Regions from separate parts of the Homo sapiens genome. Here all the other regions are linked to region 1. The links are contacts of gene promoters, found by promoter capture Hi-C in blood cells and fetal thymus (Javierre and others, 2016). All regions are on one chromosome and are shown on one strand. Each heading gives the region's core, a stretch centred on a gene start or on the middle of the fragment in contact. The rest is flanking DNA. Distances are from core to core; before and after follow the strand shown.

Evidence for each region. The method cuts DNA at HindIII sites, captures the fragments that hold promoters and counts their contacts. A CHiCAGO score of 5 or more calls a contact.
Region 2: a contact is called between a fragment that was not itself captured here and the fragment with the promoter of CD79A in region 1, in 1 of 17 cell types (fetal thymus). The highest score is 5.9, in fetal thymus.
Region 3: a fragment that was not itself captured here is called in contact with the fragment with the promoter of CD79A in region 1 in 1 of 17 cell types (erythroblasts); the score reaches 5.2 in erythroblasts.
Region 4: a contact is called between a fragment that was not itself captured here and the fragment with the promoter of CD79A in region 1, in 2 of 17 cell types (total B cells and non-activated CD4 T cells). The highest score is 5.9, in total B cells.

What each region holds. Positions count from the first base shown.
Region 1 is chr19:41,873,854-41,880,161 of GRCh38, reverse strand. It overlaps CD79A (CD79a molecule), which reads right to left and starts at 2,883. Exons shown (of 5, transcript NM_001783.4): 1 at 2,779-2,883; 2 at 873-1,172; 3 at 509-627. The coding sequence starts at 2,857. RefSeq lists a silencer at 2,682-2,741 and an enhancer at 4,149-4,218. The HindIII fragment of the contact is 1,040 bases long and covers 2,408-3,447 here.
Region 2 is chr19:42,136,176-42,143,097 of GRCh38, reverse strand. LNROP (long non-coding regulator of POU2F2) reads right to left here. Exons shown (of 3, transcript NR_038332.1): 3 at 5,999-6,426. It also overlaps a transcript of POU2F2 not described here. Among named protein-coding and RNA genes, the nearest start is that of MIR4323, 6.1 kb to the right of the region's middle. RefSeq lists a silencer at 2,667-2,961 and an enhancer at 2,860-3,361. The HindIII fragment of the contact is 720 bases long and covers 2,374-3,093 here.
Region 3 is chr19:42,315,675-42,322,319 of GRCh38, reverse strand. TMEM145 (transmembrane protein 145) reads right to left here. Exons shown (of 15, transcript NM_173633.3): 9 at 5,759-5,839; 10 at 5,580-5,658; 11 at 5,357-5,450; 12 at 4,439-4,611; 13 at 1,883-2,003. Among named protein-coding and RNA genes, the nearest start is that of TMEM145, 5.7 kb to the right of the region's middle. The HindIII fragment of the contact is 1,958 bases long and covers 1,140-3,097 here.
Region 4 is chr19:42,178,926-42,185,367 of GRCh38, reverse strand. It overlaps a transcript of POU2F2 not described here. Among named protein-coding and RNA genes, the nearest start is that of POU2F2-AS2, 30 kb to the right of the region's middle. The HindIII fragment of the contact is 7,957 bases long and covers 496-6,442 here.

The DNA.
Region 1 (6,308 bases), core at 1,634-4,133:
GGCCTCAAGTGATCCTCTTGCCTCGGCCTCCCAAGCTAGCGTCTTCTTGAGTCTCCACTCCCTTACTATTCTCCATGAATAATAACAATAACAGTCACACTTTCTGTAGTGCCTAAGGAGAGGCTGGTACAGATCAGAGATTCTGGGAGGACCAGGCCCCACCTTCCCTGGTCTTGGCTACACCTGGAGGGTAACCACACTCCTGGGTGAGGGCAGGAGGGGAGTGAGGACACTCTTAGGGAGAAGAATGAGACTCTTCTTGGGGGGAGGTGGACGTGAGGACAGCCCAGAAGGGGAAACTAAATTGAAGACACCCCCTGGGCTCAGCGCCAGTTCAAGTCCCTTCTTTATATTCATTCATTTAACTCCCACAGCCCCTATATGGTGGGTGCTTTCATTCTCCCAAGTTTTGGATGGGGAACCTCAGGCTCTAGAGGGCTACCTGGGTATTGGGGGTCCCTCGGCCCAGGCCCTCGCCCGGCTGACTCAGAGGTCCGAGGGGGCTCACCCTGAACAGCAGCAGCGTCCCAGGCACCACCGCGCAGAACAGGAGGATGATCCCCTCGGCTGTGATGATTCGGTTCTTGGTGCCCTCCCCCATGTCCAGGAAGGGCCTGGGGGGCGGCTCTGCAAGGAGGTAGTATGGCTCAGAGCCCTGGCCCCTCTTGCCCTCCCTAGCCTCCTGGCCCCGCCCACCTCCTGCAAGGCCCCAGACCCCCCAGAGACCCCACTCTGCAGAGGAGAATGTCCGTCCCTCTGTCCAAGCCGGTTTGAAACCCACATTGAAGGTACTGGCTCTATCCCCACTTCAAAGATAAACCGAGTGTCCCCAGCGGGACAGTGGGAGTAGGGGCCAGGGCTGGGCCACTCACGGCGCACGCGGAGGTAGGTGCCGCAGGACTGCTGGTATGACTCGTTGCCCTCCTGGACCCGGCACACGTATATGCCCCCATGGCTCTTGTTCACATTCTGGATGATCAGCGTACCATTGGGGTCCTCGCCCGGGCCCAAGAACTCAGGGGGCCACGTGTAGTTGCCATGGAGGACGCGCCACCAGGTGACGTTGGCGTTGTTGCTGCTATTGTGCGGGCATTGGAAGTGGGCGTCTTCCCCCAGGCTCACCATCAATGATGCTGGGACCTTGTGCATCCACAGGGCCTGGCACCCAGGGCCTGTGGAGAGACAGGGTGGGTGGGTCAGGGACTGGGGATGGTGACACATTTCCCCAGCCCTGGCCCCTGCAGTTCCAGCACTCCTGGGAAGAGGGTGAGGACTCTCCTGGGTGGGGAGGGAGAGAGAGAGCCCCTGACAGGGGCTGATACATCCTGGGGAGAGGGGGGATGCGGGAAAGTGAAGAAGCCCCTGGGAAGGAGAGAGGACATACCTGGTTGGGGTGGGTGAGGATATCCTGGGAGAGGAGAATGAGACTCCCTGGGATGGTAAGACCCCTGGGAGGCCCTTCTCACCTCTGCAGCGCCATCTCTTGCCCCCCTCCCGCATACCCACTTTGTACTCTGGCCCTGTGAACTCTCTGGATTTTGGATGTTTGTTCCAGGCACTGGAGGACCGCTGTCCAGACAGCTCCTTCCAGAAGCAGTGCAGGCGTCCCCTCCTCCCGCAGCCTTCCCGGTCCATTTTTGCACCCCAGCCTCAGCCAGGCCCAGCACCTGGCGCTTTTTCTTGTGTAATCATTCACAGAACCCTAGAAGTAGGTTCTCTCCTTAGCCCCATTTTACAGGAGGGATGGCTGAGGCTCTGGGAGGGCAGGCGGGTTGCCAGCATCACCAGGCAGTCAGGAGTGGCACTGGGTTCAAACTCTTGGCTCCCTGGCCTCTCCCTGCCTGGGCTGAGGAGCCAGTCTGTGGCCTGCCCTGGCCTGTGACCCTGTGCCTGGCCCTCATTCTCTGTAAGTTGTATGTGTCAACCTAGGGGTCAGGGGTGAGTTCAGTCCTTGGGCTGGGCTGCTGGTGATTGAAGGGGCTCAGAGCGGGGTGGAGACTGGGGGTGTCTCTGAGTGAGACGAGGCGGCTCAGGCTGGCTGCAGTGTCCAATCCGGGCTCCTCTGGGAAGCCCCAGCTCTCAGCCAGGCCTCCCACATGGCCAGTCCCCTCTTCTGGAGGTAGGTGGAGGAGGGAGGTGAGGAAGAGAGAAGGAGGAAGAGATGGGGAGAGGGGCCGAGCACCCTCATCGTCACGGGCTTAAGACTCAGACGTGAACTCCAATCCTTGCTCCCAGTGTCCCCTTGGGTGGGGAACCTTTTTCTCTGAACTCCTGGGTTAGCGTGGCCACAGCCCCTGCCAGCTGTCCTTGAGCAGGTGAGGGGGAGTCCATGAGACACCCATTCCCCCAGTGCTGAGAAGGGACTCCCAACAGAGAGAGGCACCTGAGGTTTAAGGCAGAGAAAGCTTTTTCTCCCCTTGACAGACGCTGAATGCTGCTACCCCTAAGTCCCCTTCCTGCCCCCAGCCCTGGTGCTCAGTCAAGAGCAACTTTAGTTCCTTATTTTGGCCTGTGGGGAACAGGAGGTGGGGGAGGTGACTCTTGCTCCTGCCTCCCTGTGTGAGACTGTGGACGCCCCTTCTCCTTCGCTGGGCTCCCTCCAGCCCCACCTTGGCCCATCTTGGCACAGATACGATTTCTATAGGCATCTTCCCTGGGTCCCCTATCCTCTGCCTCCTCTTCCCCTTTCCCTGAGCCCCCTTCCCTCTGCCTGTGCCCTCTCTGCAGCCTCCACAGCTTCCCCCACCTCCCGCCAGTTCCTGCCCTTTGGCCACATACCCAGGTAGACAGCAGACAGCAGGAAGAGGAGGAAGATGGTGGCAGGCAGAGCTTGGAGGACTCCTGGACCCCCAGGCATCTTCTCCCAGTGGGTTGGTTAGTTTGAGTTGCAGCAGTCCCAGGGTACCAGATCCCTACCCCAAACCCCACCCTACTTCCTGCCCAGCCCCCCGGAGATGGGCTCCAGTGGCCCTCGCTACTGGGCCCTTTGCTTGTTGGGCCTGGGGACAGCCCCTGCCGGGTATGCTTCAGGCTGTGAGTGGAGAGAAACTGCTCCCTGCACCTGTGGTGGCCACAATTCCCCTGAGAGGTGGCTGCTTGGGTGGGGGAAGAGGCTGGTTCAAGGGCTGGCTCGTCACTGCTGAGCCTTTGGAAGGAAGCCTAGGGAACCTGAGTCCTGGGCATGTGTCATGGGCAGGTGATGGTTCTGAGCTTGACCTCTCCCCCTGCCTGGACTTGGGCAAACCTTGTCCCTTCCCTGACCCCATTTCCTTGCTTCTTGGGATTAGAAACAAGGACTTAAAGGGGTTGTCACATGCACAGAAATGGCCCACAGTAGGCGCCCAGTAAATGTTAGTCACTATAAATACTCATGAAGAATAAATAAGGCAGGCTGACCTGTGGCTGACTACCCGTGTGACTAGGTGGGCACTTTGATCCTTCGAAGCTTGACATTTTTCATCTGTGAGATGAGGACCAGAATGTCTCCCTGTCTCATTATGTGATACGAGATGGTGTTCCTGGTATTCAAGGAGTGAGAACCATGATCAGCTCTTTACTGGAATTCTTTTTTTAAAAAAACAGGCCAGCTATGGTGGCTTATGCCTGTAATCCCAGCCCTTTGGGAGGCTGAGACAGGAGAATCACCTGAGGTCGAGTTTGAGACCAGCCTGGCCAACATGGCGAAACCCCATCTCTACTAAAAATACAAAATTAGCCAGATGTTGTGGCACATGCCTATTATTCCAGCTACTCAGGAGGCTGAGGCAGGAGAATCAGTTGAACCCAGGAGGTGGAGGTTGCAGTGAGCTGAGATCACACCATTGCACTCCAGCCTGGGTGACAAAAGCGAAACTCTGTCTCTAATAATAACAATAATAACAACAACAACATATATTTTTCTTCTTTTTTTTTTTTAAGAGGGATGGGATCTTGCTATATTGCCCAGGCTGGTCTTGAACTCCTGGCCTCAAGCAATCCTCCTGCCTCAGCTTCCCAAAGTGCTGGGATTACAGGCATGTGCCACTGTGCACAGCCAGAAGTTGTTTTATATTGACCTGCCATGACTGGCAAGGTAGGCCATCCCCCATTTTACAGAGGGGGAAACCGAGGCCAGAGAGGGGAGGTTGTCACTTGCGGGTGTCATACAGTCTAGGGGTGGTGGACAGAGATTCAAAGTCATCTTTGTGTTGCTCCCAGTTTCCTTTGAGCATGTCTGGTAGGAGGGAAATGAGGTCTGAGTGGGGAGGGCGGAGTTGCTGAGATATTTGTGAGCAGTTAGGGGACCCTCACACACATACAAGGGGATATATAAAATAAATTTATTGCAGGGAGATTTTTGGTAGCAAACATTGAGAAGCAAATGAAAAGTCCATTTGTGGGAGAATGGGTGCATACACTGTGGCAAAGTGAGCCAACAGAATGCTACAGAATAGGGGAAGGTGTCATAAGGCTGTCTCAGAAACAGCACAAACATCAGAAAAAATATCGTAGCATGATACAGTTGACTTGTTTTCAAAAGGCGTCCGCTGCTTAGGGACACACGTTTGTAGCAGAGGTGTAGACCCGTGCAGGGGAGTGGCAAACGCCCAGTTCCTGGGAGGGGTTACCTCTGGGGGACGCCAGGGTTGGGTCTGGGGAGGGACACACAGAGACACAGAGAGCTCATCTTGTCTTGGTTTTATTTCCTGTGTTACTTTTTTTTTTTTTTTTTTTGAGACGGAGTCTCGCTTTGTCACCCAGGCTGAAGTGCAGTGGCGTGATCTTGGCTCACTGCAACCTCTGCCTCCCAGGTTCAAGTGATTCTCCTGCCTCAGCCTCCTCAGTAGCTGGGATTACAGGCGGCCACCACCATGCCTGGCTATATTTTTGTATTTTTAGTAGAGACCAGGTTTCACCATGTTGGGCAGGCTGGTCTCACACTCCTGACCTCAGGTAATCCACCCACCTCAGCCTCCCAAAGTGCTGGGATTACAGGCGGGAGCCACCGTGGCTGGCCACTTTTTTTTTTTTCTTTTTTAGAGATAGGGCCTCTCTCTGTCACCAAGGCTGGTGTCCAGTGGCATAATCATAACGTCAAACTCCTGGGCTCAAGTGATTCTCTTGCCTCAGCTTCCCAAGTAGCTGGGATTACAGGTGCACACACCATGCCTGGCTATTTTTAATTTTTTTTTTCTTTTGAGACAGAGTCTCGCTGTGTAGCCCAGGCTGGAGTGCGATGGTGTGATCTTGGCTCACTGCAACCTCCGCCTCCCGGGTTCAAGTGATTCTCCTGCCTCAGCCTCCTGAGTAGCTGGGACTACAAGCAGATGCCACCATGACCGGCTAATTTTTTGTATTTTTTTAGTAGAGATGGGGTTTCACCGTGTTAGCCAGGATGGTCTCAATCTCCTGACCTGATGATCCACTCGCCTCGGCCTCCCAAAGTGCTGGGATTACAGGCATGATCCACCGCACTGGGCCTATTTTTTAAATTTTTTGTAAAGACAGGGTCTCACTGTGTTGCCCAGGCTGGCCTGGAAGTCCTGACCTCAAGTGATTCTCCCAGCTTGGCCTCCCGAAGTGCTGGGATTATAGGCACTGCACCCTGCCCTGCCTGTGTTACTTAAACTGGGTTGTGCTTCATAGGTTTTTCTTACATTATGAATACTGAATGCTAAATACTTGCATGCCTGAAGTATTTCAGATTTTTTTTTTTGAGATGGAGTCTTGCTCTGTTGCCCAGGCTGAAGTGCAGTGGCGGCACAATCTTGGCTCACTGCAGCCTCCGCCTCCTGGGTTCAAGCTGTTCTCCTGTCTCAGCCTCCCAAGTAGCTGGAATTACAGGTGTGCACCACCATGCCCAGCCAATTTTTTTTTTCATAGACACAGGGTTTCACCATGTTGGCCAGGCTGGTCTCAAACTCTTTTTTTTTTTTTTTTTTGAGACGGTGTTTCACTCTTGTCGCCCAGACTGGAGTACAATGGTGCAATCTTGGCTCACTGTGACCTCCACTTCCTGCATTCAAGCGATTCTCCTGCCTCCACGTCCAGCTAATTTTTGTATTTTTTAGTAGAGACAGGGTTCCATCATGTTGGCCAGGCTGGTCTCGAACTTCTGACCTCAGGTGATCCACCTGCCTCGGCCTCTCCAAGTGTTGGGATTACAGGTGTGAGCCACCACTCCAGGCCAAGGTCTCAAACTCTTGACCTCAAGTGATCTGCCCACCTCTGCCTCCTAGAGTGCAGAATTTTAAAAAAGTGCAATTGCCAGCTGGGCGCGGTGGCTCACGCCTGTAATCCCAACACTTTGGGAGGCTGAGGCGGGCGGA
Region 2 (6,922 bases), core at 1,484-3,983, 260 kb before region 1:
CACCACCCCTGGCCAGTTTAATGAATCTTGATCGAGTGAACATCTGTGCATTCACCACTTGGGTGGAGATGTCAAAGGCACCCAGAAGCCCCACCCCGTGTGTCCCTTTCCAAACATACTCCTTCCTCTCTGCTGGAGGTAACTACAATTCTCACTTTTGGGATAATCATTTATTTGATTTTCTGCATGTGTATCATTTAATATGTTCTAATTTTAATTAAAAAAATGAGTACAGGCCAGGCACAGTGGCTCATGACTATAACCCCAGCATGTAGGGAGACTGAGGAGGGAGGATCGCTTGAGCCCGGGAGTTCAAGACCAGCCCATGCAACATGTTGAAATCCTGTCTCTACCAAAAAGTACAAAACTTAGCTGGGTGTGGTAGCATGTGCCTTTGGTCCCAGCTACTCAGGAGGCTGAGGTAGGAGGATTGCTTGCTGGGGGGTGGCAGTTGCAGTGAGCTGAGATTGCACCACTGTACTCCAGCCTGGTTGACAGAGTGAGACGACCCTGTCTCAAAAACAAAAACAAAAACAAATAAAAAACCCCCCAAACCCCAAACCCCCACCAAAAAACAAGTACAATCTCATTATTAAAACTAAAGTGCTGGCCGGGCACAGTGGCTCATGCCTGTAATCCCAGCACTTTGGGAGGCCCAGGCAGGAGGATCACAAGGTCAGGAGATTAAGACTATCTTGGCTAACACGGTGAAACCCCATCTCTACTGAAAATACAAAAAATTAGCCTGGTGTGGTGGCACGTGCCTGTAATCCCAGCTACTCGGGAGGCTGAGGCAGGAGAATCCCTTGAACCCGGGAGGCAGAGGTTGCAGTGAGCCAAGATCACACCACTGCACTCCAGCCTGGGTGACAGAGTGAGACTCTATCTCAAAACAAACAAACAAACCAAAACTGAAGTTACTACAAAAGAGGTTATAATTAGTTACCTTCCAGACCATTTTTTCTGCATTTGCTTAATACTTGTACGCCCATAGAAAAGATACAGTTTTTAAAAATAGATGTATGTGTTTTACATCAATGATATCAAGTTGTATAAATTGTTCTGCAACTTGCTTTTTCACTTAACAGTGTCTTGGAGAACTTTTCATGTCCGCAATCCATAGATCAGTCTCATTCTCTTTCATAACTGCATAGTATTCCTGAGTATGAATGTATTATAATTTACTTAGCCACTGTCCTATCGGTGGCATCTAGACTGTTTCTTATTTTTCTCAACCTCAAATCTTGATGTAGTTAGTGAACATGTTTGTTCTTAGGGCATGGTAGCAAATATTAAATTTAAGATTAATTAAGTTCCTGGCCAGGCGTGGTGGCTCTTGCCTGTAATCCCAGCACTTTGGGAGGCCAAGGCAGGTGGATCACTTGAGGTTGGGAGTTCGAGACCAGCCTGACCAACATGGAGAAACCCCGTCTCTACTAAAATACAAAATTAGCCAGGTGTGGTGGTGCATGCCTGTAATCCCAGCTACTCGGGAGGCTGAGGCAGGAGAATCGCTTGAACACAGGAGGCAGAGGTTGTAGTGAGCCAAGATTGTGCCATTGCACTCCAGCCTGGGCAACGAGAGCAAGACTCCTTCTCAAAAAAAAAAAAAAAAAAAAAAAAAGATTAATTAAGTTCCTGTCAGCCAATTTTACTGCCCCCATTTCACAGATGAGGAGCTTGAGGCTTAGAGAGAGAAGTCACCTGCCCAGGGTCACACAGCAAATGAATGGAGGAACCAGATTCCAAACCCTCATCTGATTGACTACCAAACTAGTCATTATGTTCACCTGTATAGATGGTTAACCATCTGCAGGGCAGTTGTCCTTACCCAACAAACATTCCTGGAGCCTCAGCTAAATGCAGGCCCAGTGCTGGGTGCTGAGTCTACAAGAACATGTCAAACTGAGCCCTCTTCTCAAGGAGCTCACAGTCTGTAGGTACAGCCTCATTGGGAAGTGATTCAGTGCAGTACAATTAGTGCTAAAGCCCGGGGATACTACCTGGAGCTGTGGCAAGACTGAGGTCAGGGAAGGCTTCCAGAGAGAGGATATTTGAGCAGAGGCTGGTGTGTACAGAATTTGTGGCAGACAAAGCAGGCATGAGGGATGGGACACATAGGGGAGCCCAAGTTATTGAACAGAGGAGAAAGGTGAGCTCTGAGGGTGAGATAGCTGAGGAGGTTGAGAGGCACCATATCCACTTGGGTTTGGAGAGCCAGCCTTGGATTTTATTCTGTGGACCATGGGTGCCTGGAAGGATTTATTCATTCAACAAGTAAGGTTCAAGCATCAACTATATGCCAGGCACTGTTAAAGCACCAAGAATACCACAGTGAACAAGACAGAAAAGGACACCTGTCTTCAGAAAGCTTACATTTTAGAGGGTGAAAGAGACAGTAAAGCAAATAGGCGGCAATTGAATTTCAGAGTGCTCTGAAGGAAATAAAACTGGGAATGGAGTGGAGCATGACTAGGGAGGGTTTCTCTGAGGAGTGGCCTTTGAGTGGAGTCTTGAAGGATGAGAGGAAGGGGAGGAGGTGGGGAACAGCATTCAAGGGGGCTGGCAAGGTTGAAGGCCCCATGTTGGGGACAAAATTAGCTTCCTCCAGTGTGGCTGAGGTGTGGTACTCCTGTGGCCAGCGGGGAGGTCCTGTAGGGCCCTGGAGGCCACAGTAAGGGGACTGGGTTTGTCCTGGGGGCAGCAGGACTGGAGGGCTCTGGACCAAGGCCATGGGCTCTTGCTTTTCAGCCTTTGGACAGCTCCCTGCGCTGGGATGACAGCGGCGGCCTCTGAGCCTGCAGAGTTGGTGCTGCGCCCAGTGGGAGCTAGAGAACAGGAAGTGCGCATGTGGGCTGTGGAAAGCCTGGGGGCAGCAGCAAGGGGGCTAGGGACTCCTGGGCCAAGGGCAGAGCCTCATTGAGGAAGACCCAGGGCCAGGCGCCTGCTCCCACAGGTCATTCAGAGACCCTGGTGAGCACATGGCAGTGGATGCCAAGGGACCCTGTTCCTGGGGGATCTGCAGTCTGAATGAGACTCACACAAGCCAGGTTGAGGAGCAGTGAGCTCAACAAAACAGCTGAAGCACAAGCTTTGGGGTCAACAAGCCTCTGGGTTCACTCCAGCCTCATTGTGTGACTGTGGGCCTCAGCTTCCTCATCTTTAAAGTGAGGATGATAATGGTCTCTCCCTCATAAGATGACAGTGAGGAGTAAGTGGGTTGCCGAGTATACCCAGCCAGGGCCTCTTTAGAGTAGGTTGGCCATGCTTTACCTCCCTATTTGTCAATGGCCAGTTGAGCCGTCAGTCCATCTCACCCGTTCTTGTTTCTTTCAAGCTACAGAATGTTAGAGCTGGGGCCGGGCCACAGTGGCTCATGCCTGTAATTCCAGCACTTTGGGAGGCTGAGGTGGGTGGATCACTTGAGGGCAGGAGTTTGAGATCAGCCTGGCCAACATGGTGAAACCCTATTTCTACTAAAAATACAAAAATTAGCTGGGCATGGTGGCGCATGGTTGTAGCCCCAGCTACTCAGGAGACTGAGGCAAGAGAATCACTTGAACCCAGGAGGTGGAGGTTGCAGTGAGCCAAATAAAGTAAAATAAAATAAAAGAATGTTCAAGCTGGAAGAAGTCTTAGAGTGCTTCTCCAGCCCATCTCAGACATATATCTGGGGAAACTGAGGTCCAGGGAGTTCAGGGGGCTGGCCCTAGGTCACTAGAGGGCGAATTTCAGAACAGGGACTGGTTGGTCTTCTTTTATTTGTTGGTTTGTTTTTCAGAGACAGTCTCGCTCTGTCACCCAGGCTGAAGTAGAGTGGTGTGATCTCAGCTCACTGCAACCTCCGCCTCCTGGGTTCAAGCGATTTTCCTGCCTCAGTTTCTCAAGTAGCTGGGACTACAGGCGTGCGCCACCATGCCCAGCTAATTTTTGTATTTTTCAGTAGAGATGGGGTTTTATTGTATGTTGGCCAGGCTGGTCTTGAACTCCTGACCTCAGGTGATCCGCCCTCGTCGACCTTGCAAAGTGCTGGGATTACAGGTGTGAGCCACCACACCCGGCCAGTTAGTCTTCTTTTATCTTCTTTGAGCCACATCACAGTGCTTCTTTTCTTACATGAGGCGAACTGGGAATTCTGGTGGATGTGGAAAATTGGCTGTGGTGGGGAGATATGATGAGGAATGTTTGTATCCATGTGAATTTGTTAAGCATCTGCTGACTTCTGGTCCACAGACCTTGCTTCTTGGAAGATGCTGCTTCCTGACTTTCCCCCTGGAACTGACCCAAGTGTCTTCCCCCTGCTTCCCTTCTCACTGTGTCTTTCAGTGATGGCCTCGCATCCACCCAGCCACCCCAGCCCAGCACCCACTTCTCATATCCTGTTCCTGTAGACTCCAGCTTGAATATGTATCCTCATCCTAATCCTCATGGCTCCTTTCTCCCCTGCCGCCTTGGACCACTGTCCCAGCCTCCCCATTGGTCATCCTGTCTCCAGATTCCATGCTACCAGCCGGTCCCCACATTTGTCCCCAGTAGAACTTCCTTACACAGAATGCTTCTGCGCAGAAGCCTTCCACCTGCAACTTCAAATCCAACCTCAAAGGAACTTGAGGACAAACTTGGGAAAGCCAAGTTTGTCTCCACCTTGGGGTCTTCAACCTTGGCAACCCCCTTGAATGCTGTTTCCCACCTCCTGCCCTTCCTTTCATCCTTCAGGACCTCAGGTCCTACCCTGATCTTTCTTACCTGAGCTTAAGCTCTTCCACCTGCCCCAATCTTCTGTGCCAGGAAAGATACTTTAACATACCTGGACCTCATTCTTGACTTCTCCGTGACTCCCATGCCCCACATTCAGCCAATCACCAATTATTGCTTCCTGTCATCATCACCTGATGGTGATGTGGAATTCATCAGCTTCCTCACGCTGACCCCCACACTCCATCCTCTGGTTCTTCACTGCGGCCTCCAAAGCAGCCAGGATTGTCACAAAAGTGTTCATAGAACCATGCCACTCCCCTGCTTGAAACCTTCTCAGGTGTCCCACTGTTCTTGAAGTCCCAAATTCTTACCTTGGCCTGCAAGGCCCTGTGCGATCTGGCCCTGGCCGCCTCTCCACCTCACACCTCGTCTCCTATCTTCTCTTCTTTGTTCACTCTGCTCCAGCTCTATAGGCCTCCTTTCTGATCCTGGAATTGCCACACTGTTTGTTTCCATGGGGCCATCGCCTCCTCTGTTCCCATTGCCTGGAGTGTCTTCCTTCACATTCTTTGCCTCGAGAATACTGTGTCTAATTGCTATGTAAATGTCACTTCCTTGGGACAGTTTTCTGCAACATGCCATCCTTTGTTTACATCAGGTATCCTCCTTCTACTTTTTTTAAGAGTCAGGGTCTCTCTCTGTCACCCAGGCTGGAGTGCAGTGGCATGATCGTAGCTCACTGCAGCCTCGACCTCAAGCAATCTTCCCGCCTCAGCCTCTCGAGTAGCTGGGACTACAGACGCACACCACCACACCCAGCTAAGTTAAAACAATTTTTTTTGTAGAGATGGGGTCTCGATATGTTGTCCAGACAGGTCTCAAACTCCTGGTGTCAAGCAACTCTCCCACCTCAGCCTCTCAAAGCGCCAGGATTACAGGTGTGAGCCACCATGCCCAGCCCCTCCTCTACCTATTCTTGAAATCACTTTTCCTAACTTAGAATTACATATTTATTTGATGGCTTTTTATTTTTTATTTTATTTATTTATTTATTTATTTTAGAGATTGAGTCTTGCTCTGTCACTCAGGCTGGAGAGCAGTGGTGCCATCATAGCTCATTGCAGCCTTGAACTCCTGGGCTCAAGTGATCCTCCTGCTTTACCCTCCAGAGGAGCCAGGACTACAGGGGTATGCCACCATGCCCTGCTAGTTGATAACTTTTAAAAATTATTTCTCCCCCAAAGACTATAAGCTCTATGGGTTGCTTTTAACCACTGTATTCTCTGAGCTTAGCAATGGCTTGGCACATAATAGCATTTATTGGATATTTATTAAGTGATAAATTACCAAGGTATTTTTATCCACTCCAGTCTTCCTCTCAGACTGTTAGCTCCTTGAGGTCAGATTTTAGATCTAGCTCACCTCTGGGTCCTCAGCTCCCAGCACAGGGCTTGGCACTGAGGGACATGAGGAAATGTTTGAATTGAAGGAAATGGGGAAGGGTTGGCCCACCTTCAGCCAGGAGCTGATGGGATCAGGAGTCCAGTGCATTGCCGAATATCAAGAAACTGACTCGAAGGCTGTGGGCGTTGGACTGTGAGCTGCAGAGGTATTCCAGCATTGCTGACTGGACAAGGAGTGGCTGGCTGTTGCTGTTGTCTCCTGAAGGATGGGGAGCATTTCACGCCTCCAAGAAGGAGCTCCATGGCTCAGTACAGAGAGATCAAGCTGTCAGGGGGACAGACCTGGGCTTAAATCCTGACTCCACCACTCATGCTGTGTGACTTGGGGCAGGAGACTTCACCTTTCTGAGGCTCAATTTGTTAGTAAAATGAGGATGATAGCAGACCTTTACCTCCTCAGACTGTCATGAGGACTTAGAAATAATATATTGGTTCAAATAGCACAGAGTAGTCCAGGCACAGTGGCTCACGACTGTAATCTCAGCACTTTGGGAGGCTGAGGCGGGTGGATGGCTTTGAGCCTAGGAGTTCTGAGACCAGCCTGGGCAACATGGCAAAACCCATGTCTCTACTAAAAATACAAAACTAGCTGGATGTGGTGGTGCACGCCTGTGGTCCCAGCTATCTGGGAGGCTGAGGTGGGAGGATGGCATGAGCCTGGGAGGCAGAGTTTGCAGTGAGCCAAGATCATGCCACTGCACTCCAGCCTGAGTGACAGAGCCAGACAGTCTCAAAAAAAAAAAAAAAAAAGGAAAGCATAG
Region 3 (6,645 bases), core at 869-3,368, 440 kb before region 1:
TTGGAAAGATGAGAGGGTGGAAATGAAAACCACTGGTGCAGAGCCCAGCACATGATGGGTTCTCAGCATTTCTCCTCTTTCTGTCCCTTTCTGACTTCCTGCAGAGCTTCAGGATAGACCAGCCTGGGAAGGTGAGCGAGTCTGTACCTATGTCAGCCTCTGAGGCAAAGGATGGGGACCTGTCCCCTCCCTCGGTGGCTGGGCCCACTCCCTACACGGGGTACGTTGTAGATCCCTGGAGTCAGAAGCTGGGACACTGGGTCATGCCTGTTGCCCTTTCTGGTTCCCCTTCATTTCAGACCTTGTGGTCTGCTGGAGAAGGATAGGGTTCAAAGTATTTGCCTGCCGCCAAAGGCCACGGAGCCCTGGCACGTCACTTCTCCTCTCTGGGCCTTAGCTTCCCCGCTCTGTGTAGTGGGAACAATGTCAATTATCCACCCTCTCCTGGAGCTGCTCTGACAATTAAACAAGAGGGCAGGAGTAAATGCATATGGATGTTCCTAGAATGAAACAGACTGGTTCAAGACAGGTGCCCAGTGAACAATTGATGAATAAATTAATGAATATTAGAACTGTCACCAAGAATGTCAGATAGGATGTGAACCAGGGCAAAGAATAGACGTGGTGGGGGCCAGGCGCAGTGGCTCACTCCTGTAATCCCAGCACTTTGGGAGGCCGAGGCGGGCGGATCATGAGGTCAGGAGATCGAGACCATCCTGGCCAACATAGTGAAACCCCGTCTCTACTAAAAATACAAAAAAAATTTGCTAGGCGTGGTGGTGGGCGCCTGTAGTCCCAGCTACTAGGGAGGCTGAGGCAGGGGAATGGCATGAACTTGGGAGGCAGAAGTTGCAGTGAGCCGAGATCGCACCTCTGCACTCCAGCCTGGGCAACAGAGCAAGACTCCGTCTCAAAAAAAAAAAAAAAAAAAAACCACTTAACCGGGCATGGTGGCGTGCTCCTGTAGTCCCAGCTACTCCGGAGGCTGAGGCAGGAGAACCTGGGAGGTGGAGGTTGCAGTGAGCCAAGATCGCGCCACTGCACTCCAGCCTAGTGACAGAGTGAGACTCCGTCTCAAAAAAAAAAAAAAAAGATGTGGTGCTGTACCCTCCTGTTGCCGACCCAGGAGCCCAAAAGCTTCACCCTGTGCCACCCCAGATGCTTCTTCCTGAACAGTGGCCTGTGATGGCAGAATTTGGGCAGGGGCAGGGGGAGAGTGGAGAGATCAAGGAGGGTGGGGAAGGCAGTGGGGATACAAAAGAGAAATGGAAGAATCTGGGGACACAGGGTCAGGAATGGAAATGGGAAGGGAGGGCAAAGAGAGAGGATGGGGGTTGAGGAAAGAAGCCAGGACACAAAGTTGGAGAGGGGAACAGAAGAAAATGGGCATGGGCCCGGCGAGGTGGCCCATGCCTGTAATCCCAGCACTTTGGGAGGCTGAGACGGGTGGATCACCTGAGGTCAGGAGTTTGAGACTAGCCTGACCAACATGGTGAAACCCTGCCTTTACTAAAAATACAAAAAATTAGCTGCATGTGGTGGTGGGCACCTGTAATCCCAGCTACTCGGGAGGCTGAGGCAGAAGAATCACTTGAACCCGGGAGGCGGAGTTTGCAGGGAGCCGAGATCAAGCCATTGCACTCCAGCCTGGGAGACAGAGTGAGACTCTGTCTCGAAAAAAAAAAAGAGAAGAAAATGGACTCTGAGGAGCACAATAGAGGAGACTGCAGGAACCAAGCAGGCTCTCAATAAAGGGAGAATGACTAAAAGGAAAATGGATCAAGACCTCAGAACAGGAGGTCCAGCAGATCAGGTGTAGGAGCCTCACACATCTTCTGCCCTCGGGTCCTCCCCTCCACCCCCCACAGATGCCCATCCTCACCAGAAACACGCCATGGGCGTACAAGTGGATCCCCAGCTGGATGCCATTGACAATCTTCTCCCGGGCCCACTTGGGGATGCCGAAATTGGCAATCAGGGCCATGACAGGAACCGCAAAGAACCTGAAGGGGAAGTATTGGGTCAGTAGAGACACTGCTCCTGTCCTCCACCCCACCCTATAGCCCCACCTCGCCTGCCATGTACACACGCAGACCCCAGGCAGGTCCCAAACTGGAGGGAAGCCAGTGTGACCTTCAGAAGCCAGAGACTGAAATGGGGCAGGACTGGACTGGGAAATTCTGAGGGGCAAGAAGGAGGTTCAATTTAACTCAGTTCCACACCACCCCAAATCCTGGCATCTGATAAGAAATCAATAGACAGCCCGGGCACGGTGGCTCACGCCTATAATCCCAGCACTTTGGGAGGCCAAGGCAGGCAGATCACCTGAGGTTGGGAGTTCGAGACCAGCCTGACCAACATGGTGACACCCCGTCTCTATTAAAAATACAAAATTAGCTGGGTGTGGTGGCATGCACCTGTAATCCCAGCTATTTGGAAGGCTGAAGCAGGGGAATCACGTGAACCTGGGAGGCGGAGGCTGCAGTGAGCGGAGATTGTACCACTGCACTCCAGCCTGGGCAACAAGAGCGAAACTCCATCTCAAAAAAAAAAAAAAAAAAAGAAGAAATCAGGCCGGGCACAGTGGCTTATGCCTGTAATCCCAGTACTTTGGGAGGCCAAGGCAGGTGGATCACCTGAGGTCAGGAGTTCCAGACCAGCCTGGCCAATATGGTGGAAACCACATCTCTACTAAAAATACATAAATTAGCAGGGTGTGGTGGCATGCGCCTGTAGTCCCAGCTACTCGGGAGGCTGAGGCAGAAGAATCACTTGAATTTAGGAGGCGGAGGTTGCAGTGAGCTGAGATCGTGCCACTGCACTCCAGCCTGGGCGACAGAGCAAGACTCCGTCTCAAAAACAAAAAACAAACAAACAAAAAAAAATAGATATTTGACGAATGAATGAACAAATGATAATAAGAAGTAAGGACTTATTGCATGCCAGGCCTGTTTCTAAGCATTTGATGTATATAAACTCATTTAACTCTCACAGTGACTCTATGAAGCAGATAAAATTTCCATCCCCATTAAAAGGTGAGGAAACTGAGGCAGAGAGAAGTTAATGGGCTCGTCTGAGGTCACATCATCTATAAGCTTTAGAGCTGAGATCTGAACCCGGACAGTCTGGCTCAGAATCTGCCAACCTTATTGCTATGTTATGGTGAACGATAATAATTACAATAGTTTTGGGTGTTTTTTTGTTTTGTTTGTTGTTGTTGTTTTTTGTTTGTTTTTGAGATGGAGTCTCACTCTGTTGCCCAGGCTAGAGTACAGGGGCACGATCTCAACTCACTGCAACCTCAGTCTCCCAGGTTCAAGCTATTCTCCTGCTTCAGCTTCCCGAGTAACTGGCAGTACAGGCGTGCACCACCATGCCTGGCTAATTTTTTTGTATTTTTAGTAAAGACGGGGTTTTACCATGTTGGCCAGGCTGGTCTTGAACTCCTGATCTCAAATGATCCACCCACCTTGGCCTCCCAAAGTGCTGGGGGTACAGGCATGAGCCAGCGCACCCAGTCTACAATAGTTTTTTACTGAACATTTACTATGTGCCAGACACTCGGCCCTCATATAGTGGCCTATGCTTGCTCAAGATATCCCTTTGAGGAGATCCTGTTTTTTTTTTTTTTTGAAGATGAAGTCTTGCTCTGTTGCCCAGGTTGGAATGCAATGATGTGATCTCGGCTCACTGCAACCTCTGCCTCCCGGGTTCAAGCAATTCTCCTGCCTCAGCCTCCTGAGTAGCTGGGATTACAGGTGCCCACCAGCATGCCCGGCTAATTTTTTTATTTTTTGGTAGAGATGGGGTTTCACCATGTTGATCAGGCTGGTCTCGAACTCCTGACCTCAGGTGATCCACCCGCCTTGGCCTCCCAAAGTGATGGGATTACAGGTGTGAGCCACCACGCCCGGCCTGAGGAGATCCTGTTTGGTTTTTTTTTTTTTTTTTTGAGATGGAGTCTTGCTCTGTGGCCCAGGCTGGAGTGCAGTGGTGCGATCTTGGTTCACTGCAAGCTCCGCCTCCTGGGTTCACGCCATTTTCCTGCCTCAGCCTCCCCAGCAGCTGGGACTACAGGTGCATGCTGCCATGGCTGGCTAATTTTTTTGTATTTTTAGTAGAGACGGGGTTTCACCATGTTAGCCAGGATGGTCTCAATCTCCTGACCTTGTGATACGCCCACCTCGGCCTCCCAAAGGGCTGGGATTACAGGCGTGAGCCACCACGCCTGGCGAGATCCTGTTGTTTTATGGGTAAACCTGATGCACTTCTTGTGAAAGTAATTTTTCACAAAGTGAGTAAGTGGCAGATTCTGGGCAACAGCTGCCTGAGTGAAAAGTCCATCTCCCTCACTATGGAGGGTCTGAGATGGGGGGCAACCACTTCTGGGGAGCCCCGAGAGGGAGGCAGGGACAGGCTGGGGCCCACCAATTCTCACCAGAGGGTATAGGCAGCAAAGAAGGGCACATAAAAAGGCTGCTTCTCAGGAAAGTGTCGCAGTGAGACAAGCACAGCATAGCAGAACCACACGTAGGCCGCCACCTGCAGTCCAATGAGCCCGTAGCCGGCCGGCGACTCATACGTGTACAGTACCTGGCCTGGGTCAAAGAACTAGACCCGCAGGAGAGGGTCCATCACAGCCTGGCCTCCTCCCCTCTATTAGGGTCCCCGGACCCCACCCCTGGGCACTTGGGAACAGAGGTACTCGGTCAGAACACAAGCAACAGGAGAGCCAGGCACGGAGACAGAAGCATATTGAGGTAGAGAGAGAGGGTGAAAAAGACAGGAAGAGAATAAATCAGTTACTGTTTGCTCAACACAGGGCTAAACCCCTCTCATGTGTGAGTTTTTCCATCAGCATCTACTCAACGAGGTAGGTCTTATTACTGCTCCATCTCACAGAAGAGGAAACTAAGGCTAAGAGGGAAGCCCTTTGGCCAAAGCCATACAGACGATAGAAAGCCTTAGAGGGGCTCCATGGGGTAGGTAAGATCCTCCCAATTTTCCAAGAAGAAAATGGGCCCAGAGACAGGGGTCGTCACCCAAGGTCAGGCAGCTAGGAAGTGGGAGAGCTGGTGTGGAATCCAGGTCTGTGTGACTCCTGAACTCTTAGTCACGATATTGAGCACAAATGTGACAGACAGTGAGAGACAGAGGGAGGAGAAAGAAAGCTGCTGCGGGATGGTGAAGAGAGGAGGAATCACTTAGACAGATGGGAAAGCAGAAAATCGAAGAGTGGGAGAGAGAGCGAGCCAGCAGGAGCAGGATGTGGGCAAGGGCGAGCAGACAGGTCAAGGGGGAGGCGGCGCCAAAAGCAGGGGAAGGCAGGGCCCGGCCAGGGGCCAGTCGGACTCACTTCCGCCTCGTAGATGAGCAGCACCACATGGGTGAGCGTGTACAGGGTCATGTAGACAGACAACTTCACGGAGCCCGCGTGGCTGATGCGGCCCCTGGCAGCAGGCCATGAGGGGAGACAGCAGGGTGGGGGCCGTCAGGGAGGAGGATGCACCCAGCCCCCCAACCCTGCCCCTGCCCTGCTCCCCCACCAGCCGCCCCACGAGCACGCCCTGCCCGGGCACCGTGTCACCGTGAATCCCTTCCCCAGGAGGATAAGCATCAGCAGGAAGATGAGGAAGCTGGAGGAGAAGAGCAGCTTGGCTGGGAGAAGGGAGGAGGGGGCGGCTCAGAGCCAGGCTCAGACCTGATGCCCAACCTGAGCCCTGGGCTCCACCCTCTCCCCACCCAGCTTCATTCTCACCCAAGATCTTCACACTCTCGTTGCCAATGCCATCGGTGGCATATTGACCCCAGTAGATGCAGAAAAATAGGAGGCTCAGGACTGAGGGGAGGATGGGCAGATAAGAAAGGATAGAAAGCAGCTCTGGGGCATCACTGTTCTCTAGCACTACCATCCAGGCAGTCTGAATCCCGCCTCCTCCCTTAGGACTCCAGACCTTCTACCCCGACTCACCTGCTAGGAGAATCTGGAGTCCAGCCCCCAACCCTGCTCCCCAAGGACCCAGGGGCCCAGGCCCCCACCCCCTACCCCCTCAGACCCAGGGGTCCAGGCCCTCACCCCCTCCCCCCTCAGACCCAGGGGTCCAGGCCCCCACCCCCTCCTCCTTCAGACCCAGGGGCTCAGGCCCCCAGACCCTCCTCCTCCAGGACCCAGGGGTCCAGACCCCCAGCTCCTCCTCCCTCAGACCCAGGAGTCCAGGCTCCCAGCCCCTCCTCCCCCAGACTCAGGAGTTCAGGCCTTTATTGTTTTGTTTTGTTTTGTTTTGTTTTTTGAGACAGAGTCTCTCTCTGTCACCCAGGTTGGAATGCAGTGGCGTGATCTCGGCTCACTGCAATCTCCACCTCCCGGGTTCAAGCAATTCTCCTGCCTCAGCCTCCTGAGTAGCTGGGATTACACGCACACGCCACCATGTCCAGCTAATTTTTGTATTTTTAGTGGAGACAGGGTTTCACCATGTTGGTCAGGTTGGTCTTGAACTCCTGGCCTCGTGATCCGCCCACCTTGGCCTCCCCAAGTGCTAGGATTACAGGTGTGAGCCACCGTGTCCAGCCTAGTTCCGGCCTTTATACTCCCTCAAGGACCCAGGGGTGTCAGGTCCCACCCCCTCCTCCCCCAGGAACCAGGGG
Region 4 (6,442 bases), core at 3,225-5,724, 300 kb before region 1:
AAACATTACCCCAGTAGCCAGTGTGGAGGATAGACTAGAAAGGGGGCAAGAGGGGAGACTGGGAGGCCAGGTAGTAAGGAGATTCATGGGCCAAGCAGGAGATGTGGAGGCCTGAACTAGGACACTGGGAGCAGGGAAGAGAGGAGGAGATGGATTTGAGAAATACTCGGTTGAACTCTATGAAATTCCCATTTTGTAAGAAAAAGCTGGGTGATATTGTCAATTTCATATGGTTTAAAATTTTAATATTAATGAAGTAAATGAACTGGATGGGATTTCAATCCTGATTGGATGTGAATATGAGGAAGAGGAAGGTGTCAAGGACAGGGACAATTTTTCTGACTTGAATGCTAGATTGGATGGAGTATCACCATGGGGAGTGGGAACCAAGGTCTAGGGGCATGGTAGAGAAGATGACATGATTAGATTAGACATGTTGATTTTGAGGTATTTTTGGAACCTCTAGGAGGTGGCTGGGTATCCTGATGTGAAGCTTAGGAGAGAGGGCTAAACTGGAGACAAATTTAGGGATTACCAGCATAGAGAAAGCAGTTGTGGGAGGGGATGATTCACCCTGGGAGAGCAGCCCAGACAGAGCTGGAGAACCAAGAGAGTGAGGTTTCTTAGATGCCAAGAGGATTTTGAAAAGATATTTGTGGCTGCATGCTGCAGAGGAGAGTCAGATAGGACTGAAAAGTGCTTGTAGGATTTAGCAAGGAGGAGACTGTCAGGGACAAGGGTGTGTCTTGGGGGGCAGTAGTGGGAGTGCCTTGGACTGGCCTCTGGAAGGGCATGCTGGGCCTGGACTTGGAGGTGTCCCTTCGTCCTTAGTCATGCATCACTTCAGCCACCAGGGGGCAGTGGCCACATGGAATCCAGGTTGGAGGGATTCACTGGGGCCCACAAACTCTTGGAGATGTGGGCAGGGTTGGGGGATAGGTCCAGAGCAGAGGCTGCTTCCTAATGGAGAGAGACATCCCCATGTGAAAAGAGCAGGGAGGAAGTTCTGGGAAGGGCGGCAGGAAGGAGACCTTTCTGTGGGGCAGACAGGAGGCCAATTAGAAATCCCCAGTCTTGGCCCAGAGCGGTGGCTCATGCCTGTAATCTTGGCACTTTGGGAGATCAAGGCCAGTAGATCGCTTAAGCCGAGGAGTTCAAGACCAGGCTGTGCAACATGGCAAAAACCTGTCTCTACCACAAAATACAAAAATTAGCAGGTTGTGGTGGTGCACGCCTGTCGTCCCAGCTACTCAGGAGGTTGAGGCAGGAGAAGGTCGAGGTGGCAGTGAGTTGTGATTGTGCCACTGCACTCCAGCCTGGATGACAGAGGGAGGAGAGAGACCCTGTCTCAAAAAAAAAAAAAAAAAAAAAATCCCCAGTCGTGTCTCATAGTTTCCTTCTCTCTGGGCCTTTTCAGGTGCAGGTGGGTTTTATTCAACATGGTACTTCGAATAGCAATGGATTTGTATTTTGAACCCTGATTTTCTTTGCACTCACTTCTTGATAGTCTTACTCTCCATTCTGTGTTCAAAACATAGTGAACTTTTTTCAGTTCTCACCTGCTTCCATGTGAAAGCTCTTCTTCCATGGGAACGCTTTCTCCATCCTGCCTCCTGTTTATCCTTCAGGTCTTATCTCAGGCATCACCTCTTCTCAGAAGCCTTCCGTCACTGCCCCATCCACCTCCTCTTGGCTCCCATAGAGCCCTATCTTGAGTCTTGAATATTCTGGCTGGTAATTATTTATTTATTTATTTGCAATCAGCTTTATTGTGATATAATTTGCATGCAATAAAATTCACCAGTTGTAAATGTACAGTTTAATGAGTTTACACACACACACAGTTGTGTAACCACCACCACAATCATGTTACAAAACATTTCCATTACCCTAAAAAGTTCCCTCCGGCGCCTTTGCTGTCAGTCCCCTCCTTCCACTGCAGCCCTTTTCAACCACTCATTTGCTTTTCCGTCACAGTAGTTTTGCTGTCTAGAATTTCATGTAAATGGAATCCTACAGTGTGTGGTCTTCTGCATCTCTCACTTTGGTTTTGAGGTACTTCTGTGTTGCTGTGTGTATCAGTAACTGTGTATTTATTGTTCATTCCCTCCCCCACCAACAACTTCAGATGAGGGTCTCTATGAGGGCAGAGTTGTGTCTCATTTGCATTTGTTTCTTCAGCTTACAGCATAGTGCTAATTCGTGATAGTATTCAGTATGCATGTCTTAAATGGAACCAAACTGAATGCTTGGGGAGAGTCAGCCTGGGAGAGCTTCTGAACCCGGGTGTGCATAAGGCAGGACCCATCTGCAAGATGCCTCATGGCCTTTTCATCCCACTCCAGCTGCTCCTCCATTTACTTTGGCTGGTTCTGCTCAGCAGGCCCTCACTTCTCTGCCCTTCTCTAACCTGCTTCCCTTTACCTGGTCTTCGATTCCCCGCTTGTGGTCTCAGGGCCCTGCTCCATTGCCTGCTCCAGCCTCCTCCTGGTCTTTGGAAGTCTCCACACCACTGAGCCCTGGCCTCCCTGAGCCTGCAAGTCTCTCCACTCCTCCTCCTGCCTGTCCCAGGACCCTACCCACTTCAGATGACTCCACATCTCAGTCCAGCTCTGCATACCTCTCTGTCTGTGCCTCCGGGTCCCTGTCTCTGGGCCCCTTCTAGGATGATGGAGACAGCTGGCTGCCCCATCCTAGGGAGCTAGGTTGTGATTCCTCTTCCTTTCTCTCTTTTGCTTCACCTTCATCCTCCGACTCGAACACCTTCCCATAGGAGGCCACTGGGGCAACCTCTAAATTTCATTCAGACCAGAAAAGCCTCTGTCTGTTTCTTATTTCTTTCCCTTCGGTCTTTATCTCCTTCTCCCATCTCCTTTCTCCTCTCCCCAGTCCCCTTCACTCTTCCTGATACCCTCACTCTGCTCTGCTCACCATTCACCTCCCTTCCTCCTCCTAGCTTCCTCTTTTCTCTCACACCCATTCTCCTCCTGTCCTTGTTCTCTTCCTTGCTCCCGCACCACATCTCCCTCTGCCTGTGTCCTCAGGGCCTCCTCCCTTCCTTCCATACATCCAGTTCCAGTTCCAGGTCTCTCTCTCTCTCTCTCTCTCTCTCTCTCTCTCTCTCTTTTGAGACAGAGTCTTGCTCTATCGCCCAGGGCAGTGCAGTGGAACAATCTTGGCTTACTGCAACCTCTGCCTCCTGAGTTCAAGTGATTCTTGTGCCTCAGCCTCCTGAATAACAGGTCTCTTCTTTTTGCTCCTTGTCCTTGCACCACTTTTTTCCTTCTCCCCAGTTTCTTCCCTTCCTGCTTTGTGTGCCTTCGTTTCCCTTATCTTACACCCTTTATCCTCAGAGATTATAAGGGAGCCCCAAGACTTGTAACCAAGACACCAAGATGTACACACACGCACACACATGGCCACAGATGCGCGAACAAATGTTTCATTAATGAACAAATGCATCTATCTAAAGGTATGTTCAAGGCCGGGAGTGTTGGCTCACGCCTGTAATCCCAGCACTTTGGGAGGCCGAGGTGGGTGGACCACCAGGTCAGGAGTTTGAGTCCAGCTTGACCAACATGGTGAAACCCCGTCTCTACTAAAAAATACAAAAATTAGCTGGGCATGGTGGCATGCGCCTGTAATCCCAGCTACTCGGGAGGCTGAGGCAGGAGAATAGCTTGAACCCGGGAGGCAGAGGTTGCAGAGAGCCGAGATTGTGCCACTGCAGTCCAGCCTGAGTGACAAAGCAAGGCTCTGTCTCTAAATAAATAAATAAATAAATAAATAAATAAATGTATGTTCAGACGCACACACTCAATTAAGGTCATCCATAGCTTGCAATGTTTTGTACTTAGTATACATCAGGTACTATTATTTGTATACATGTTTCTGAAAGATGAACAGGCAGAATGAGGAGGGAATAAGAGCTGAGCTCATTCGTACAGGAAGAGCCATGTACATGCACACCTGTACCCAGAGATGGCCCTCACTCAGACATGCACACACACACATTCCTCAGAGGAATCTGGTACTTCTGGAATTATGCTATTTCAGAAGCAGAGAGAGCACACATGTTTTTGCTGTGTTGTGTACAGTGTATGGTGTACGTCTTTGCATGTGCCTGGTGTGTATACATGTGCTGCATCAGCCTTCGTGGAATCATGACTCGGGGCTGGGCGGAGCCCTAGAAATCAGTTAGGACAACCTGCATGTGCGGATTGCTTAAGTCTCCTATTGGATCTGACTTTTGTAAGTCCATGAGGGATGTCAGCTTCTGCTTAATATGGATATTCTGGATAATTAAGATACCAATCATGCATAGGTTGTGGACCACAGACTCTTAACATACTGGCAAGTAAGCATATGATATGGACTTAGCACATATCAAACCAAGTTTTTTGGATCCTTAAAATTGGTGCTTTAGCCTGGGGAACATATGGAGACCTCATCTCTGCTTAAAAAAAAAAAAAATAGATGGGTGTGGTGGTGCATGCCTGTAGTCCCAGCTACTTGGGAGGCTGAGGCAAGAGGGGATTGCTTGAGCCCAGGAGTTTGAGGCTACAGTGAGCCATGATCACGCTGCGGCACTCCAGCCTGGGTGACAGAGGGAGACCCTGTCTCAAAACAAACAAACAAACAAACAGACAAACATTGGTGCTGTGTGCTTAGTGTATACTCACTGTATACACAATTATTATGTACTTGGTCATTCTTAGGAAGGATGACCGCCCCCCACCCCACCCATGTACTGGTCCTTGTAGGTGCCAGGGCCAAGGCAGGGAACAGGACATCCTTGGTCTCTGCCCTGTCCCTGCTTCCCTTCTAGTAGGTACTCAGGCTGTCCATAGCTCCTCCTAGGTCTATTGTACACGTACAGATGGAGGGACCTGGGAGTCTGCTGGGTAGATTCATTGCAGGGTCCAGTATTCCTTGTTGCTCCTTCCAGAATGGATAGTGTGTGGGTTGTCATTATATACACCCTTTTTTGAGTTCTCTCCTCACTATTGGGACCCCATGTGCCTTTGTATGCAAGCGGAGTGGGTGTTTCTTATGTTCAGTTTTGTTATGTGCCTTTGTGGATCACCAGAACCTGCTCATGGGTGTCTCTTATGTTCACACTAGCTAAGTCTATTAGGTTGGTGTGCCAGCTTTGTAGGCATGGGGGATAGGGTACTTCCTGCATTCATTTATGTTGTGCCCACACAGTATGGGTCCCAGGGAGGCTGGTTGGTAGGTGGCTATGGGGTGGTTCCGTGTCCACTATGTTCATGCCCTGTAGGCCCATGTGCCTAGTTTGTGTGCAGTTGGAGTGGGCGTTTCCTGTATTTATTTGTGTTGTGAACACACTGTGTGGATCCCAGGAGTCTGCTCTGTATGGGGGTATTAAGTGGTCCCATGTCCATTATGCATCTGCTGCATAAGACCCAAATACCTACTTTGTATGGACAGAGGGTAGTATTCCTTGCATTTATTTGTGTTGCGCACACAGTGCGGGTCCCAGGAGGCTGCTCCGTACAGGGAGTAGTAGGTAGTTCTGTGTCTATTATGCACACGCTGCACAGGTCCTGGGTACTTACTTTGTACGCCCACGGGGTAGGTGTTTCCTATATTTATTTATGTTACGCACTTCCAGTGTAGGTCTTGGGAGCGTTCTCCATACACGTGGGCAGTTGGTGATTCTCGTGTTTCTCACACACACATGAGGGTCCCGCGTGTCCACTCAGTATGCATGGGGTAGCCTTGCTGGTAACAAAGCGAAGGGCGGTTGCAGCTGCTAAGCCAAGACCGCGCAGCGCGTGCCTGCGTCCTCCTCCTCCTCCTCCCTTTCCCTCCCTGCCTTCCCCCTCCTGTTCCCTCCCTCTCACACCCCCTCCCAGGTCTGGGTACCACTTGCAACCCTATCCTCCTCTTTGCACCACTGCACCCCCGCCTGCAGGGGGCGGGAGCCATGCACCCTCCCAAGACCCTGTGCCCACCTTCCCCTGGTCGGAGCCCCTTCACCCTTGGCCTTCCTTTCCTTCCTCCCTGTCTCCAAGCCATAATGTGCCTGGCACAGGGGAGGTGCTTGGTGACTGGGCACTGCCCTCCTCTCTTTCTTCCCCTCCTCTCCCTTCCCCACTCCTCTCCTTTCTGCTGTTCTTCCCTCCCCTCCTGTCTGCCCTTTCCCCCTTGGTGCTTCCCTGGACCCTCTTGTCACCTTCCTACTTTCTGCTTTCACCCCAGCCTGTCCCTTCCTCCTTTACCTGGGCTCTGTCTCTGCCCCCCATCCCCAGCCTTGTCTACCAGACCTCATTCTCTATTTCTGACTCTCCATTTGTCTCTTCTTGTCTCTGTCTCGCATCTCTCTGTGGATCTCTGTCCAACTGAAAGCCTCTTCCAGTGCCTTTCTCCATCTCACTGTGTCTCTCTGTGTGTCTCCTGAGGTTTCTCTGTTCCTGTC